Linked DNA regions of Homo sapiens: regions 1, 2, 3, 4 and 5 are each linked to region 6. The links are contacts of gene promoters, found by promoter capture Hi-C in blood cells and fetal thymus (Javierre and others, 2016). All regions are on one chromosome and are shown on one strand. The core of a region is centred on a gene start or on the middle of the fragment in contact, and the rest is flanking DNA. Distances in the headings are between cores, read along the strand shown. Region 1 overlaps EXOG (exo/endonuclease G). Region 2 holds the start of ZNF621 (zinc finger protein 621). Region 3 has its middle 7.3 kb from the start of RPSA. Region 4 overlaps CTNNB1 (catenin beta 1). Region 5 has its middle 2.1 kb from the start of ARL6IP5. Region 6 holds the start of ACTR8 (actin related protein 8).

Region 1 (2,700 bases), core at 194-2,693, about 15 Mb after region 6:
TGACATGTTAGTTAAAAATTTTTCAAAATCTACAAGATCTATGTAAAAAGCTATTTTGTAGTGGACATCATTCAAAAGATACAACGGCATTTGGTACAAAAGATGGTTTTACAGAGGGATGGGGGCGGGGGAAACGTATAATCAAGCAAGATTAGACTAGTTACAGGTCAGCAATGGGGTTTCAGGAGGAGAAAGCAACTTGGGCACAAATGATGTCTGTAACAAAGGACTCAAAGGCTTAACATAAACCAAGTCTAGTTAATCAGTGAGTCAGCAAACAACCCTTTTCATGTAAGATTTAGGTATAAAAATATTTTGCAAAGGAAACCCTTGCTGCTATTAAATTCCCAAGAAGCACTGAACTCTACTCAAGACTGTAGCAAAAATTGGAAGTCAACTGGGAGTTAACTAGAAAATACAATACATAAGCTGGCACTCATTCGCAACCTGAAGCTAGTTTTCTTATATACTGGCCTGAGCTTGTTTCCTTCCATCCAAGAGACAGAAATGACAATTTGCCACCACCACCTGTGCCACCCAGACCCAGAAGAGACCCAAAACAAACAATACCCATATTAAGCCTGCCATTTGTAAGGTCATACATACTGTAAATGTGCCTCCAATAAAATATTAAGCAGCATCAAGAGGAAAAAATATGTACCTGCTAGAATTAGATAGATATATTTGGTTACATTCCCCTGGTAAGACAAAAAAAGAAACTCCAAAAATAAAACTAGAGGGACAGATCAAGAGACCACGCCCTTAAAAAGTCATGCCGATCAAGTGAAAGAAAGAAACCATGGGAGTTTGATAAACAGGAAATCCGAACCTGAGGGGGGGAAGGAACATGAAAAGTGAGGGAGTCACAAAGTGTGGTAAAGTCAACAAGAATGTGGTCGCCCCCTGTGTTATCTATAGAGCCTCAGCAGATGCTTTTGTGGCAGCACAAACCCTGGAAGACGGTACTTCTCACACTGGGGTACCTGTTCCAGGCCAAAGGGTAGCAGCCTACTAAGTCACAGTAAAACAAGCACCCTCTTTCTAGGCTGTCAATGGTACTTGAAAATTTAGGGTGAGGGTAGGGAGACAACCAGTAAAATAATTTAACTTTCATTAAAACAAATAGATATGGAAATGAACAAAAGCTTTCCCTAAATATAAAGCAAGAGACTTAAAAAAAAATATTACTCCCATATCACTTCAAATGATGTCTCAAGACTCCTGAGGGCATTTTCAATTTCCTCCCCTTTAGGGTTAGTATAATGGAAGTTTGCAAAGTGCTGTTATAAAAGAACACAGATTGTTAAATATTTCTAACATTACCACCATCACTGAGTTCTAAAATCTGAAGCTCACTTTCTTGTCAGACCATTTATAATGTCCAAACCAGAATCTTCAGGTATGTTTCACTTGTCTGGAATCAACCTCTTCTTGAAACAGGAACATCAGAGAAAGCACAGGGATGACCTCAGCTATATAATAAAGGGGGTGATTCTGATTAGAACTGTCAGATGACTCACTTCTGATAAAATCACTGCTACGAATCTTCCCTTAGGCTCATATTCACTCAAGTTCTATGATGATGTGATCCTTTCCTACATATTCTAACAGACATTTCTGCCTGGCTATAAGGAATCCTCCTCTTGGCCCATTTTCTGTTATTTTTGCATGCTAGCAAGTATCACTTGTAACTCCTCTCTCCATCCACACCATCTTTTATTATCTGCTAACCTTAAGCTTTTGTATATGAACAGCACAGCAATTCATTTACTATAAACTTGAGCGCTTCAAAGAGTAACACTGTGAATGACTGGCAATTGTCAGACAGACCCATGTTTGGATACCCTCTTTGACAATTATAAGCTATATGCCTGAGACTTGATCCTTAAAGCCTTGATTTTCTTGTCTATAAAAGAAAATGGTCACTACTTTTTTTGTAAGGGTGTAGTGAAGATTGAATGAGATGCATATATAAAGCTACTTACATACTGCCTGGTATACCTGGCCCTCAAGAAATGCCAGTTCATTTGCTTTACTTCCCCCAAAGTAAAAACACATATATGCTTCATTGCCTGGACAGAAAACTAAATAAACCCTTTTATTGGGTACAACTTCCTAAAATAAGGTTCAGAGTATAGTTGTAAGCAAGCAGTAAATATTAAATGGCTAGATCTGAGAAAACAAAACACTTTCCAAGCACTCTGAATTGCCGTACGTAATTGCAAGACATTGCCTTGAAAGTGGGAATTCATGATTCAAATTATTCGTTGCTTGAGAGAAACAGACCAGTCTCCAGCACTGGGCAATGCTGTGTCCCCTTTCCCAGAATAATTAAAGGACATCATTTTATCTATATTTGTTTTATAATTAATTGCCTACTTTTCAAAGGCCCTGCTTGCTAGAAAATTATCTTGAAGTTCTTGCCTAAACTTTTTAGCTGGTCATTTGAAGTTTCTGCCACCAGGCCCCAAACTTTCCTTTTATTTTTGTCTCCTTCCCTACATGAACGCTCTAACTTAACTGTTTTCTCAGCATATATCCTATCGCTTCTCATCTCTTCACCTTGCCTAGGTAGACCTCCCACATCTCTATTTCTTAACCAAATTCTCCCAAGTTTATAGATACATGTGTGTGTGCATATATATAAAAATTTGGGCCCAATTAAATTCTTGGCAAGAATTTCAAGATAATTTTTCAAAT
Region 2 (2,700 bases), core at 38-2,537, about 13 Mb after region 6:
GTGAGCCGATATCATAGTGCCACTACACTCCAGCTTGGGCGACAGAGTGAGACTCCGTCTCACAAAAAATGAGTCTGATTTCAGTAGGTGACTTTCATTTCTAGAACACGATCTGGATTTCCACATTCAGAAAGAATTTCTTGGTATAGGTCCCCTTTCTTCCATTTAAATCTATACATCCAAACTCATCACTCTCTATACACAAAACTTTCATTTCCCCAGCACATATTTACATCTGCCATAGCCCTGGAGATAGATACAAAGGGGAAAACACAGCTTGGCCAAGTTAGGCCTTCCTCATCCTTTCCTGATTATCTGATAGCTAATGTGAGTAAAAAAACATAAACAAACAAACAAAAAAACTGAAAGAAGCTCAGCTCACCTGAGGCCAAGTTGTTTGGAGCATGGCGGATGTCCCCTGGCTTCATGCACTGTCTTCTGGGTTTGGACAAGCAAGATCCTCAAGAGCTAAGAGAAAAAGAGCCATGAGTGCTAAGGACCCTGTCGTCCACCACCTACAGCAACCTATGGCCCTCCCAGTTTCCACATTTCCAGCACTGGATGCACGGAGATTCTACTAGGACTCCCTCTAATTGTTCTCACGCTGATAGCCCCAAACTTCTTATGAATTGTTCTGCCTAGTCTTCAGGACAATCTTCCACCTGCCTGCTCAGTCCGAAGAGCTTTTTTTGAGCCCATTCGTACGGGTAAACTGAGGGACCCAAGAGCCCTGTCCCTATTGTGTTGGGTCTCTACAAACGTAAAGAGTCTTTACAGAATGCTTACAGGGACGATGACGTGGACCCAAAAGAAAGAACCTCAGGAGAAGAGGGACTGGGGTGGCTGAATGCGGATTAAGGGTAAAATACTCAGCGTCCCAGTGGGTGATGCTGACCGGAGACCCCACCCAACCGTGATCTTAACACTCCACCCAAGAAAACAGGCAACCCCAAACATCAGAAACGTCAGTACCGGGAGCCAGAGGCTGTCAGGGCAAGTTCTTTAGGGCAGAAAAGAGGATCAGGCCTCGGTGGCAAAGGGCTGGACACGGGCTCTAGAAGCCCGAGCAGCCACCTTGACGGCTTCGGCGAGGCCCAGATGCCCACGGTCCGGGTGAAGGAGGGGCGGGCCGCCATTGGGACCAAGTTCAGGGGTAGTGGGGGCTGACGAGCCGCCAGGGGCAGCGAGGAAGCCGGCACCGGGCGGACCTGGCACGTAGAACTCGCTGAAACCCACGCTCTGCAGAACGCCGAGGAGCTGGTCACTAACTAAAGGCCGAGCCGGAAGGGCGAGTGCACGCCCAGGGTCCCTCTAGGCCCCCGGAGGCCGCCATCTCGGTCGCCCCGTGGCCAGACCCGCCCCGCCTTTCATGGCTGGCCCCGCCCTGCGGAAGAGGCGAGGTTGCGGCGACCGGCTGGGCTGAGAGGCCGGCGGCGGGCGTGGAACTGTGGCGCTCTAAGCCCGGCTTTCTCCGGCAGCCGTCGGCATCGCCTCTGGCTGGAGTGTCACGGACTGATACAGCCTGGCTCTACCGAGACCTCGCCCTCTAGGCACAAGTGGGCCCCCAGTTCACGGGCTGCGCCTCAGCTGTTGGCCGCCTTGGCCCCGTGGCTCACCTGAAGCCTGGGCCGTGCAGGTGAGGGGAGAATGGCGCCTGCTTTGTCATCTCTAAGAGGCCCAAGCCCAGGATCTTGCTTGGGTCCTCAGCTGGGCAGTCCTCAGGGAAACCATGGTTTCCACTCGCCGTTTTAGCCCTCTCCCTTCCAAGGACCTAGATGTGCGTAGAACCTTTTAGGACAGATTCATTTAACAACCAAAACACCCGTGGCTACATACAGTTGCTAGGCATCCTGTATACACAGGACATGTCCTATATTAAATGATCTTGTCCTGTGTTGACTTTGGGAGGACACCCTAAATGTCTTATATTTAGCTTTTTCCAATAAATTACAAAAACTCGTAGTTACAGCTATTTTTCTGCTCAGTAACTGGCACTTAAATAAAATGTTAACACCAGCTGAAATATATATATCTCATACTTCCATAAATAATGATCTGGACAGACCTTTATGGTCTGTTCTGTTAGTTGGACTGCAGGAAGAAAAAACAGTGAAGAGGGGAGGCTGCTAATTAAAAGAACTTACTTTTCATATTCAGGAAAGGAAAAGACTGTTTTTTGACCAAAGTCCCAAGTCACTAACAAGTACTTGCCATTAATTTACATAATTTTAGATCAGTACACGTACTCTGAAAATCAACCAGTACACAACAGCCTCACTCCAAGCTTCTGAACATGAGCCAGTCAGTGATAAACACTTCCCGAAGCCAGCCAGTGGCAGCTCTACCCAGCTCATTGGCAAGTACCTCACTACTGTGCCCTTCCTTCTGGACAGGAGCCTTTCTCCAGTATCAAAGTGGTTGCTAAGATGGACAGACTTTGTTTTTTTTTTTTTTGCTTGTTTTTTGTTTGTTTGTTTTTTTGAGACGGAGTCTCGCTCTGTCGCCCAGGCTGGAGTGCAATGGCGCAATCTCGGCTCACTGCAAGCTCTGCCTTCTGGGTTCACGCCATTCTCCTTCCTCAGCCTCCCGAGTAGCTGGGACTACAGGCACCCCGCCACCACGCCCAGCTAATTTTTTGTATTTTTAGTAGAGACGGGTTTTCACCGTGTTAGCCAGGATGGTGTCGATCTCCTGACCTTG
Region 3 (2,700 bases), core at 28-2,527, about 14 Mb after region 6:
GGATCTGTCTCTAAAAGCTTCATAAAAGAAAAAGGAGGCCAGGCGTGGTGGCTCACACCTGTAATCCCAGCACTTTGAGAGGCCGAGGCAGGTGGATCACGAGGTCAGGAGATCGAGACCATCCTGGCTAACACAGTGAAACCCCATCTCTACTAAAAATAAAAAAAAATTACCCAGTCGTGGTGGCTGGCGCCTGTAGTCCCAGCTACTCGGGAAGCTGAGGCAGAAGAATGGCGTGAACCCAGGAGGCAGAGCTTGCAGTGAGCCGAGACTGCGCTACTGCACTCCAGCCTGGGTGACAGAGCGAGACTCCGTCTCAAAAAAAAAAAAAAGAAAAAAAAAAGAAAAAGGAGTGGCAGGAGCAGGGGACACAGTTAGGGGAGAGAAGCAAGTGTGGCAAAATCTTGGCAATTGCTCCATCTGAGCGATATGAATGAAGGGCCAGTAGACCATTGGCTTTCCTATTGTGATGGCTTGAAAGATTTCATAATCATGTATTCTTAGAAAGTGAGTGTAATACAGCTTGAAACCTTTGCTTCTGTGTCTTCTTTTGGCTTTAGCCCTACACTGCCTTATCTTTAGTCACCATCTGACTATTTTTCTCCCACAGAGCCCCACCTCTAATGTGCTTTAATAAGTCTAAGGCAGCCAAGAAGGAACCATTTAAAAAAAAAAAAAGGCCAATGTGGTGGCTCACACCTGTAATCCCAGCACTTTGGGAGGCCAAGGCGGATGGATCATGAGGTCAGGAGTTCGAGACCAGCCTGGCCAAGATGGTGAAACCTCGTTTCTACTAAAAAATACAAAAATTAGCCGGGCGCGGTGGCAGGTACCTGTAATCCCAGCTATTTGGGAGGCTGAGGCAGGAGAATCGCTTGAACCCGGGAGGCGGAGGTTGCAGCGAGCCAAGATCATACCACTGCACTCTAGCCTGGGCAACAGAGCAAGACTCTGTCTCAAAAAAAAAAAAAAGTGGGCAATGCTTCCAAAGCCAGCTAACGCTCACTAGCCAATTGCTTTCCAAGCTTTAATACTGAGACTGTGAGAGAGGAAAAAACAGGCTACTTGCCGCAGGACTCGAGATTCACAAAGACAAATTTTCTACCTCATGTTTAGAGAAAACTAGATGATTTCTCCTGATTTTATCATATTTATTTGCTCCCCTAAAAAACAAATGAAGAAAATGTGAGGGGGAATCTGGTGGCAGAAATTCATCTGCCAATGTGAGGCCAGGAAATTCGCATTGGGAAGAAGCCCAACTCTCTCGGCCTTATCTCTGCCCCTCCTCCCTAAGAGTCCTCACTGGCATTAGGTTCCCTGCACTCAGGATGAGGGTCAAAGGAGGCTGAGGAGGCAAGGGACATGGAACACCTACTCCAGAGTCTAAGTTCTTAGGAAGCAGCCACTCCATCCAACTGTCCCTCCCTTCTCTCCTTTCCCATCCTGACCTCTCCCCTGCTTCCTACAGCACGAGGCCTCACAACACACAGGTCACAGCATTGGAGGCTTGGGTGCCACTGTAAGCTTAGGACCCTGCTTCATCCTCTCCCACACCCCTACCCAAATTACTATTTTAAATATGGTGTTTTAACCTAAAGCCTAAAGTATAAACTGATTTTAACTTATACATCAGCTTAATCTGTGTTGTGGGTTGAATTGTGTCCCCCCAAAAGATATATTGGCGTTCTAACCCCTAATACCTGCGAATGTGACCCTATTTGGAAATAGGGTCTAACATAGAGAGAAACAGATACACAAGGGAAAAGGCATGTGAAGACAGGCAGAGATTAGAGTGATGTTTTTACAAGCCAAGGAATGCTAGCCACCACTAGAAGGTGCAACAGACAAAGCATGACTCTCCTAGAGCCTTCAGAGGTGCAATGCTGCTGACACATTGATTTCAGACTTCTGGCCTCCAGATTGAGTTATAAACCATTCTGACTGTGGTAACTTGTTGTGGCTGTCCTATGAAGCTAATACCACATTTCAGAAACATTTATTAATTAACCCTCACCACCACCTGAAGAGGCAGGAAACATTACTAACCCTATTTCCGGCTGGGGGCGCTGGCTCACACCCGTAATCCCAGCACTCTGGGAGGCTGAGGCAGGTGGATCACTTGAGATCAAGAGTTCAAGACAAGCCTGGCCAGCATGGTGAAACCCTGTCTCTACTAAAAATACAAAAAATTAGCCCAGCGTGTAGTCCCAGCTACTTGGAAGGCTGAGGTGGGAGAATTGCTTGAACCCAGGAGTGGAGGTTGCAGTCAGCTGAGATTGCACGATTGCACTCCAGCCTGGGCAACAGGGCGACACTTTGTTCTCCGCCCCCTAAAAAACCCCCAAAACAAACTAACCCCATTTCCTAGGCATAGTTTCAGTGCCATGCCTAGGTAGTGGAGAGCAAGCAGCTTTCAACCTGGGCTGCCTGGATTAGAGCCCATGTTCTTAACCACAAGACTAAATATCCCCCCAACTTGTGCTTCTTGTATAAAGTAATGGCTGTTTCCTGATTTTTTTTTTTCTGATATGGAGTCTCATTCTGTCATCCAGACTGGAGGGCAGTGGTGTGATCTGCAACCTGCATCTCCTGGGTTCAAGTGGTTCTCCTGCCTCAGCCTCCTGAGTAGCTAGAATTACAGGCGTGCCCCACGATGCCTGGCTAATTTTTGTATTTTTAGTAGAGATGGGGTTTTGCTGT
Region 4 (2,764 bases), core at 199-2,698, about 13 Mb after region 6:
TCTGCAAATCAGTATCTTCTCAATGAGAGTACAAGGAGGCAATGGCTACATACGATGGACAAACCAGAAGCCGCTCCTGGGCTATGTTTACTATTTACTTTTATGGTATAAAAATGTTCTCAGTCAAGCAGTTTCAACAATAGATACCACAGTTCCAATAAAAAGAGGGCTACAAGAAAACTAAGTTAACACATATTTTCAAAAACAATGTCACAAATCAACATGACACACTACAAAAGAGTTGCAAATACCTTTTGTTAGAAGTTTGTCCAGTTCTAAAAGCCTTCATCCTTTGTGCCCCGGGTTGGCAGTCAAGCATGCTTCCGACTAAGCTCAAAGTACAAACTTAAAACTTACCACCTACTCATCTACAATTATTGATTATCAGAAGCTAGGAAACCACAAGAGAAATAAAAATAATCTTGTAACAGGACAGATGTATTATTTCATTTCAATAACACTGAAGTTTCATTTGGCTAAATATACTTCTATAGTCTATTGCAGGAGATTTAATTTCACTGCTACTTATAACTACAAAATAATTATATTCAAACTTTTAATTCTCTACATCCCTAGTTTCAACAATACTTAGCATGCGCCTCTCCCCACCTCACCCTATAACAAAAACGAGTATCTGCAATAGTTTTGCTAACACATTTCAAAATACCCTTGGAGAAACTTGCCTCCTCGTTTTCTATCTTGGTGGTGGTGTTATTAAAACAAGCATACAGACCCTCATTTATGCCAATTTTTATTCCAGTCATTAACAGGAACAGTAAGCTCAGTCTGATAAATTTTAATACTGGAAATACACTTTTCTATATCATGTTGGTAAAAGAAATAATCAGATAACAGTTTAAAAAACCCCTCTTCCATACTCTGAAACCTGAACACTGTTAAATGCTTCATTTTTTTTTAATTAGCCACCTTATTTTTTTTTAAGTTGGTTTTTCCTGAAAACTTTTAAATGACTGTTCTGGTCTGTGGGAGACTCAGGACTCCACAGGACTCTAAAGTTACATGCTATACTAAGCTTTCTAGCACAGGTTTTTTATTTTTCCCCACCCCCAGGACTTCAAACTTGAATAGTCTCAGCATTCCTTTAATCCTACAGAATAGACTTCTGAAAGTTTTTCAAGTTACTGTTGCAATAATCTCAGGGCCTTGTCCTTGTACACGGCCTTCAGAACAAAGGTTAGGTCAAAGTAATGAATATTGGGCGCAAATTAACCAAATTTTGTCTGGTGTGAAAGGACATCCTCAAACCTTTAAGGGTACTTTTTTTTTAATCAGAGATTTTTCAAAGATTTAAATATAAAAGTAAAATAAATTCCGCACAGCCTTAGTTCAAACGAAAAGCCTCCAAAGTAGAAATTTATGTCAATAATTTAAGCAGAGAATAAACCAGCAGTATAACATAAATAACACTTGAGACTATATTTACTATTTCTTAGGATGAATACAAGTCAACACGAAGACATCTGAAGGTATTGAATGTTCGTTCACCAAGTGACAAATACTGAAATGGCTTCCTAAATTCCAGACAAACTACAACTTAGCGATCTGAAAAACATTAGCCTAGACTTTATGAAAGGAAATGCTGCCGTCTCTTCAAGTTGATGTCTAGCCTAAGCCACCATTATTCATGATACAAAGCTCTCATTTCACTAAAACCACTCCTCGATTTCCTTTTGCCGACCTCTGCATACCAGCAGCCTAGTCTTTCTTCATTCACCACTCACAAACTCGAGGGGTGGGGGGAAGACCACAGATGTCTGGAAGATACAAAGTAGGAGACAACGCTCCCTCCAAAAGGGAAGAGAACGAAGGCAACAACTACATACACCCAACTGCCAAAGCTTTCAAGCTTGGCAGATTCAGAAGCAGGCTATAGGAACTTAACTTCGAAAAGTCTCGGTTCAAAGTCCTCTCTCCAGACAAAACACTGAAAGAAGTTGCAATGCTTGAATTCCATTTGGCCAGCTTTGGAGCGAAGGAAAAATTCACTCCGCTGAAAAGAAAACGTGCTCTATAATTCAATTTTAGCTGCCATCAAACTATTTGAATAAATTTAAATTATTTCTACGAACAAAATTCTCGAAGCGGTCTGAGTCAGAGGCTGAATCCTGCAGTTCACTTGGTAAGAAACAGTAAGCCATCACCTTCGCCTTCCTCCACCCCCTTATTTCACCAGGGTCTCATACCCACTACCATAAATCCATAAGACTCCCAGTACATTATCCACTGCTTTCACTCACCTGCATAGTACGCTAAAATACAGGTGCAAGACATGGATTTTTTATGTGCTCACCCTACTGACGCATCGCACCCGCTGCACTTAGAGTTTAGTTGCTCTAAGGTTTAAAGTTGCTTCGATTCAAACTCACATAGCCAGGGCATTAAAAAAAATAATAACACTTCTATTCTTAAGAATGAAAGAGGAAATCTTAAGAGAAAGTCCACTGGTCCGATCCCCAGGACTGATGGGACTTAGGGTGGCGTCTCTGCCTCAGCGCCCGAACCCCAACTCGCCGCAAGAGCTGAGAAGGCGGAGCCCCCCGTCCCCACCCCGCCCCCCACCCAGGGCCCGGCGCATCCCGAGGCACCGGGTCCCTCCCCCAAACTCGGCCAAGGCCAGAGCCCCGGACGGAAACCACAGACCCCCACCCCCACCCCCACCCCGCCTGCCATCCGGGCTCCTGTACGCGCCCCCGCGGCGCCCCCTCCCCGCAAGCGATGCCCCCAGGGCCCCAGAGAGGCAGCG
Region 5 (2,700 bases), core at 35-2,534, about 15 Mb before region 6:
GCCCAAAGACCTGGCAAAAGAAGTATTCGTTGTCAATTCTCTTCTAAGCTTCCAAGGGTCATCTTTTTTCAGTTAAGGGGCTGATTGGTACAATGCATGAGAAAAAAAGTAGTTTGTTTAATTGTATAATGTAATAGGTAGAATTCTAAGGTGAAGATTTCTAAGATAACAGAGTCTCTAAGCCCCTAAGTGGCTTAGACAAGGTGAATTCACTCTACTCAGATCACCAATTTTTGAAAACTTGGAAAGTAATGAAATATACTAATGCAAAGTCTAGAAAACATAATTTAATTTTCCTTATTAATTCAGAAGACAGTTAAGGAGCTTACAGCGACTCTAAGAAATTACTACTACTACTGTTGTTTAGGAAAATTTGGTGATTGCATGGAATTAGTGCTAAGATATATCTTATGTGCTGCTTTTTGAATAAAGTTTAAAATGTGAAAATATTCCTGAGTGCTCATGTTTTCTTGATTCTGGAAAAATGGGATGGTGTGAAGTCAGAGAAAGCAAAATTAGAGTCGCAGCTCCTTCCTCTCTGGCAGGTGACTTTGGAGAAACTACTTAATCTCTCCCAGCCTCGGTGTCTTCATGTGTAAAGTGGGGATAATGGAACATCTGCCATATAGACGAGGCTAAGTGAAGGAATGTATAGGAAATGCTTAGTGTATAATAAAGGTTCACAGTTATATGTTACTATTATTGTTATTAGCAATAGGATAGCCCACGATTCTTGTTTGCTATTAATAGTGCTTTAATCTGATTTGTTTTCTATGCTTTCATTATAAACATCTACTAACTTTTCTCTACCTTGCTCCAACTTTATTGTTGTGGATGTATCTGGGTAGGGGGAAAAGGTTGAGAATATTCAGTACAATGCCAGCAAGTATTTCGAGTTCTTTTGAGGCTCTGTGAAAGCACTGTGGGTTTTTTTTCTTTTCTTTTCTTTTTTTTTTTAAAGAGGAGAAAAATGTAATCCTGCTCTGCCTTCAAAACTTCTGCAATCCAGTGGAAACACTAGTTAAATATGAGACAGTAAGAGGAGTGCTAAATAGAGATGCACTGAGCCTCAGTGCTCAGTTACAGGAAGTCAGAGGGTGTGGAGGAATTCCCCAGGGCTTCAGAATGTCAAGAGGCAGCACTGTGGGCAAGCTGAGTAAATCATCTTGGTCAAGATGAGAGTGGGAACTCCAGTGGGGCCCCACACTGTTGGTGAGATTTATGAGTATTAGAAGCTGTAACTAAGAACTTTATCTTCCAACTGCTCAGAACTGCATGACCAAAAGCTGTCAAGAGTGTATTAGTAACAATATGATTACTCCTTGATCACAGGCAATTGATACCCAAGAAAGAATTAAACCTCTTTAGAGGTTTAAACATAAATAAATAAATTCTGAAAAGACAGAGAAAGCTGTTTATAGCATGATTCCCTTCTGTCTCCCTCCCAAAATGTTAACCCTGTCTCTCTCTTTGGGGTATGGGAGATTTTTTTTTTCTCTAAATATTTCTACCTTTGTTAAATTATTTTAAATAAAAATGAACATGTAATGAGTCATTACTTTTTTCCAGTAACTGTTTGAAATGCTATTAGTAGCAGCTCTTTGTTAGTGTTCATTCCGGGGAGGGAGGGGTCAGATTCACTGTAGAGGTCTTTCTGGAGCTTTAATTTATTATTATTTTTAGAGACAGGGTCTCACTATGTTGCCCAGGCTGGTTTTAAACTCCTGGGCTCAAACAGTCCTCCCACCTCAGCCTCCCAAGTAGCCGGGACTACAGGTGTGGGAAGCCGAGCCCTGCTTGATGGGGCTTTTATAATGGGACTGGTGTGTCTAGATAGGACCATTCAGACTATCTGTCTGTTTAAAAACCATAGCAGATAGTCTAATTGTTTATGATATGTTCCATTTGAAGTAAAATAAATCTGTTGAAGGTTTTGCTTGCATGTCTCTGTTGCTTTCATTCCTGGCAAGGGCAGATGGCTATTTCTAATCCGTCAATCAATCTAAGCCAGTGAGAGTGCCTGGTGTCGTTTATCAAAATACCACCATGGTGAGTCAGGCTGTTAGTCTCAAAGCAAGCAGATGCAGGGCCAGATACCTTTGCAGACTTCTTCATCGGCTAGCTGTACTCTATCCCTAGGCCTCAGTTTCCTCCCCTGTGAAATGGGTGAGACTGGACTAGGTGGCCTTTAAGGTGACTGCTGCTTTTCACTATCTGAGAGGGTTGCAATGCTCACTACCACTAATCAAAGGGTATCCAGTATTGTTGGGGGTTCAGGCTACAGGAGCCCATTTTGATAAGCACTGAGGTTAAATCCTCAGTGAAACCATCTGTGGAGTTGTCTGGGCAAGAAAAAGTAGTTTCATAGTTGACGCTGAGACATGTGATGCAGAAGGAGGCTGGTATCTCTTGATAGGGACTGTGAACTCTATTCCCACGCTCACTGCCTGGCATTGACTTTCAGCTCAGTGAATGCTATTGAACTGAACCTAATTGGGGGACCATAAAGGACAAGCTTTCCTTAAGGTTCACTGAAAACTAGGACAAGAGGAGGTTAAATATCACAGTGTAGTAACAGCAGCTACATTTACTGAGTACCCATCAGGCTTTATGTACTCCATTTCAGTGGCCCTCAAACTTTACCAGTGGAGAATCACCCCAGGCTTTGCAGAAGGCTGAAGGGTGGGGTGGCGGGGGGGC
Region 6 (2,700 bases), core at 112-2,611:
ATTAAATTTTTACCTCCAAGAGTTCTTTATTTAGTATTTAGTCATCACATGCTTATTGGGCACCTACCATGTGCTGAAGATAACTGGCAAAGTCTCACGGAGCTTACATTCTAGTGTGGGAGACAGTGAGCAGGCATGATAATTACAGACTAATGCTTCATGCTTCAAAGGGAATAGGATGATGAGAGAATAACTGCGGAAGGCCTGAGGTGACATTTGAGTTCAGACGTGAGAATGAGACAGCTGAGGGAAGAGCATCCAAGGCAAAATGAACAGCAAGTGCAACAGCCCGATGACGGGAAGGGCTTGGCATGTCTGAGAAAGATAAAACAGGTGTAGCTGGAAATGCCAAGGAATGGGGAGAGTGTTGTGAGGTGAACTTAGAAATGTAGCAATAACTAGATATGGTCTTTAGGTGGTGGTTAGTTTAGATTCTGTTCTTTGAGCAAAGGGAAACCATTAGAGTTTAAAGCATGAGTGACATCTAATTTTTGAGGTAAGTCTTAGTGGAGTGCTGGGTACATAGTAGTATTAACTACGTAATATTTTAAAACAACGTGGGCAACTATATAAGAACAGATCATAGGGGGACAGGACAAGGAGTTCGAGTTAAGAGGCTGTTGTAGTCATCCAGGTGAGATGATAGTGGCTTGGGCTAGGTAGTGGCATGGGAATGGAGAAGTGGATGAATTCAAGATCTATTTTAGAGACTGCAGGATTTACTGATGGATTGGATGTAGAAGCTGTCAACAAGTGAAGAATCAAAATGACATTTACTGAGATGGTGAAAGTGAGAGGGGAGGGAATCAAGAGTTAAATTTTGGACATATTTAAGTTTGCAGTGCCTTGTAGACAATCCAGATGGAGAGACCAAGTAGGCACTGGTTATCAGTACGGATCTCTCTGAGCGGTTCATCCTGGATATATATATTTGGGAATCGTATTCATTGCTAAAGCCAGGAAACTGGATAGTCACCCAAGGAGTGTGCCTGGAAAAGACCTAACCCCAACATCAGAGGCTGGACTGAACATGAAGACATATGAGAAAAACTAAGAGTACATATGGTATCTGGGAAGCCAGGAGAAGAGATGCCTGTGAGGACGAAATAAGATGCGGGTTATCAGCCGACCCCCACTAGGCGCTCGAAAAGCTATGTGTACTATGTTGCTGGCATCTACACAGTCAGGACTAATCACAGCAACACCCACCCAATCAATCCGCATGCACACCCCGCCCCCAGCCCCTGCGCCGGGCAGCCCCACCCCCGCCTTTTCGGAGCCCTCTGGGGCGACTCCGCGGCGGCCATCTTGACTGTGGGCAGCCGGCCGTGCGCCTGCGCGGTGGCCCTTCCATCCCGGCAGTCGTGGCTGCAGCGCTGAGGCGAGAGGTTGGTGGGTGTCTCCGGCCATAATGACCCAGGCTGAGAAGGGTGATACGGAGAACGGAAAGGAGAAGGGCGGCGAGAAGGAGAAGGAGCAGCGCGGCGTGAAGCGGCCCATCGTGCCCGCGCTGGTGCCGGAGTCGCTGCAAGAGGTGCGGCTCTGGCTGGGTTGGAACTCTTTGCCCTTGCTTGGGTCCTCCGCTGCCAGGCAAGGGGCGGGAGGCGGCGGGAGGCTTCGAGTCCCCCTTGCAGGCCCCAGCCCCTGGTGGGGGGAGTGCGGAAGCGGTCGTTCTTTTCCGGGTGGTGGCGCGCCGGGACGCCGAGGGCTGGGAGGTGCGGAGCGCCAGGAGCCAGGCGGAGCCCCCGCAGGGACACCGCTCCGATCTCCCGCACGCCCCACCGTCTGGTTGTGTGCGCTCCTGCCCGGGCTCTGGCCTCAGCTTCCCCGACCATAAAACGACCACGGTGATAACCAGCCGCCTCGCAAGTTGCCGTGAGGGTTAAATGGTGGCAGATAGAGTTTAGGACCAGGCTGGCTCACTGGGAGCGTCAGCCTGTGCTTGTTAAGGGATAGTTTGGGGTCCAGGCTTTTTCCTTTGTTAAGGAAATCTCAGATAATGGAAGTCATTTCAAGCTTAAAAGCAAGGAAATGGTGGACATTTGTCTAAATATATATTAAGAGCTTGTGTATCAAAAACAACACTATTAGACCAAACTAAACTAACCAGAAAAAATTATTTGCAGTAGCGTGCCTGGCAGAGGACCTTAGATGTATACACATACACAAAACCTTACTGATCAGTAACTAAAACAGCATTCACGTAGGAAAACGGGCACAGGCAGTGTACAATTCACAGAAGAAATGAGGCATAAACTGCTCAGAAATTCATGTAGGACATCTCTGATCCAGCTTCCTTACCGGTAGATGGGTTAAGGATAATACCTAACTAGTAGGGCAGCTACTAGTTAGTTATCACTAGTATGACAGTGCCTGGCACACCGTAAGCCCAGAGTGGCCATTACTGTTGCACAGGCCTGGTTTCTCCATCTGTCTAGTTGAGAAGGCTGACTGGATGGTCTGTAAGGGCCTTGCCAGATCCTTCCCTCTAGGATTCTCCCACTCTGTGGGGGGTGATTAGGAGGAGAGAGGTCACACTTGGAGATAGGACAACAGGTATCAGAGCATGGCATGGAATGGGCTTGTGCAGAGGGCAGTATTGGGCACTCAAGCAAGTACCTCCTCCATCCCCGACAGTCAGGGAGGGTTTCTTCAAAGGAGGTGAGGTGACATCTGTTTAGAGTCCTGAAGGTGATTAGG

What was found. The method cuts DNA at HindIII sites, captures the fragments that hold promoters and counts their contacts. A CHiCAGO score of 5 or more calls a contact.
Region 1: a contact is called between a fragment that was not itself captured here and the fragment with the promoter of ACTR8 in region 6, in 2 of 17 cell types (total CD4 T cells and activated CD4 T cells). The highest score is 5.2, in total CD4 T cells.
Region 2: a contact is called between the fragment with the promoter of ZNF621 here and the fragment with the promoter of ACTR8 in region 6, in 2 of 17 cell types (total CD8 T cells and total CD4 T cells). The highest score is 7.1, in total CD8 T cells.
Region 3: a contact is called between a fragment that was not itself captured here and the fragment with the promoter of ACTR8 in region 6, in 1 of 17 cell types (total CD4 T cells). The highest score is 5.5, in total CD4 T cells.
Region 4: a fragment that was not itself captured here is called in contact with the fragment with the promoter of ACTR8 in region 6 in 1 of 17 cell types (activated CD4 T cells); the score reaches 7.9 in activated CD4 T cells.
Region 5: a fragment that was not itself captured here is called in contact with the fragment with the promoter of ACTR8 in region 6 in 1 of 17 cell types (total CD8 T cells); the score reaches 5.8 in total CD8 T cells.

The regions. Positions count from the first base shown.
Region 1 is chr3:38,518,034-38,520,733 of GRCh38, reverse strand. The region is part of intron 5 of EXOG (exo/endonuclease G); the gene reads right to left. Among named protein-coding and RNA genes, the nearest start is that of EXOG, 23 kb to the right of the region's middle. The HindIII fragment of the contact is 592 bases long and covers 1,148-1,739 here.
Region 2 is chr3:40,523,547-40,526,246 of GRCh38, reverse strand. It overlaps ZNF621 (zinc finger protein 621), which reads right to left and starts at 1,287. Exons shown (of 5, transcript NM_198484.5): 1 at 973-1,287; 2 at 383-468. The coding sequence starts at 406. RefSeq lists enhancers at 806-945, 505-1,317, 1,596-1,685 and a silencer at 1,246-1,405. The HindIII fragment of the contact is 8,303 bases long and covers 1-2,286 here.
Region 3 is chr3:39,398,086-39,400,785 of GRCh38, reverse strand. No RefSeq gene overlaps it. Among named protein-coding and RNA genes, the nearest start is that of RPSA, 7.3 kb to the left of the region's middle. The HindIII fragment of the contact is 499 bases long and covers 1,028-1,526 here.
Region 4 is chr3:41,199,876-41,202,639 of GRCh38, reverse strand. The region is part of intron 1 of CTNNB1 (catenin beta 1); the gene reads right to left. Among named protein-coding and RNA genes, the nearest start is that of CTNNB1, 1.8 kb to the right of the region's middle. RefSeq lists enhancers at 2,265-2,374, 2,486-2,764 and a silencer at 2,725-2,764. The HindIII fragment of the contact is 826 bases long and covers 1,036-1,861 here.
Region 5 is chr3:69,081,441-69,084,140 of GRCh38, reverse strand. No RefSeq gene overlaps it. Among named protein-coding and RNA genes, the nearest start is that of ARL6IP5, 2.1 kb to the left of the region's middle. RefSeq lists enhancers at 1,041-1,200, 2,005-2,064. The HindIII fragment of the contact is 2,467 bases long and covers 51-2,517 here.
Region 6 is chr3:53,880,813-53,883,512 of GRCh38, reverse strand. It overlaps ACTR8 (actin related protein 8), which reads left to right and starts at 1,361. Exons shown (of 13, transcript NM_022899.5): 1 at 1,361-1,534. The coding sequence starts at 1,412. RefSeq lists silencers at 1,145-1,234, 1,625-1,734 and an enhancer at 1,395-1,474. The HindIII fragment of the contact is 9,111 bases long and covers 1-2,018 here.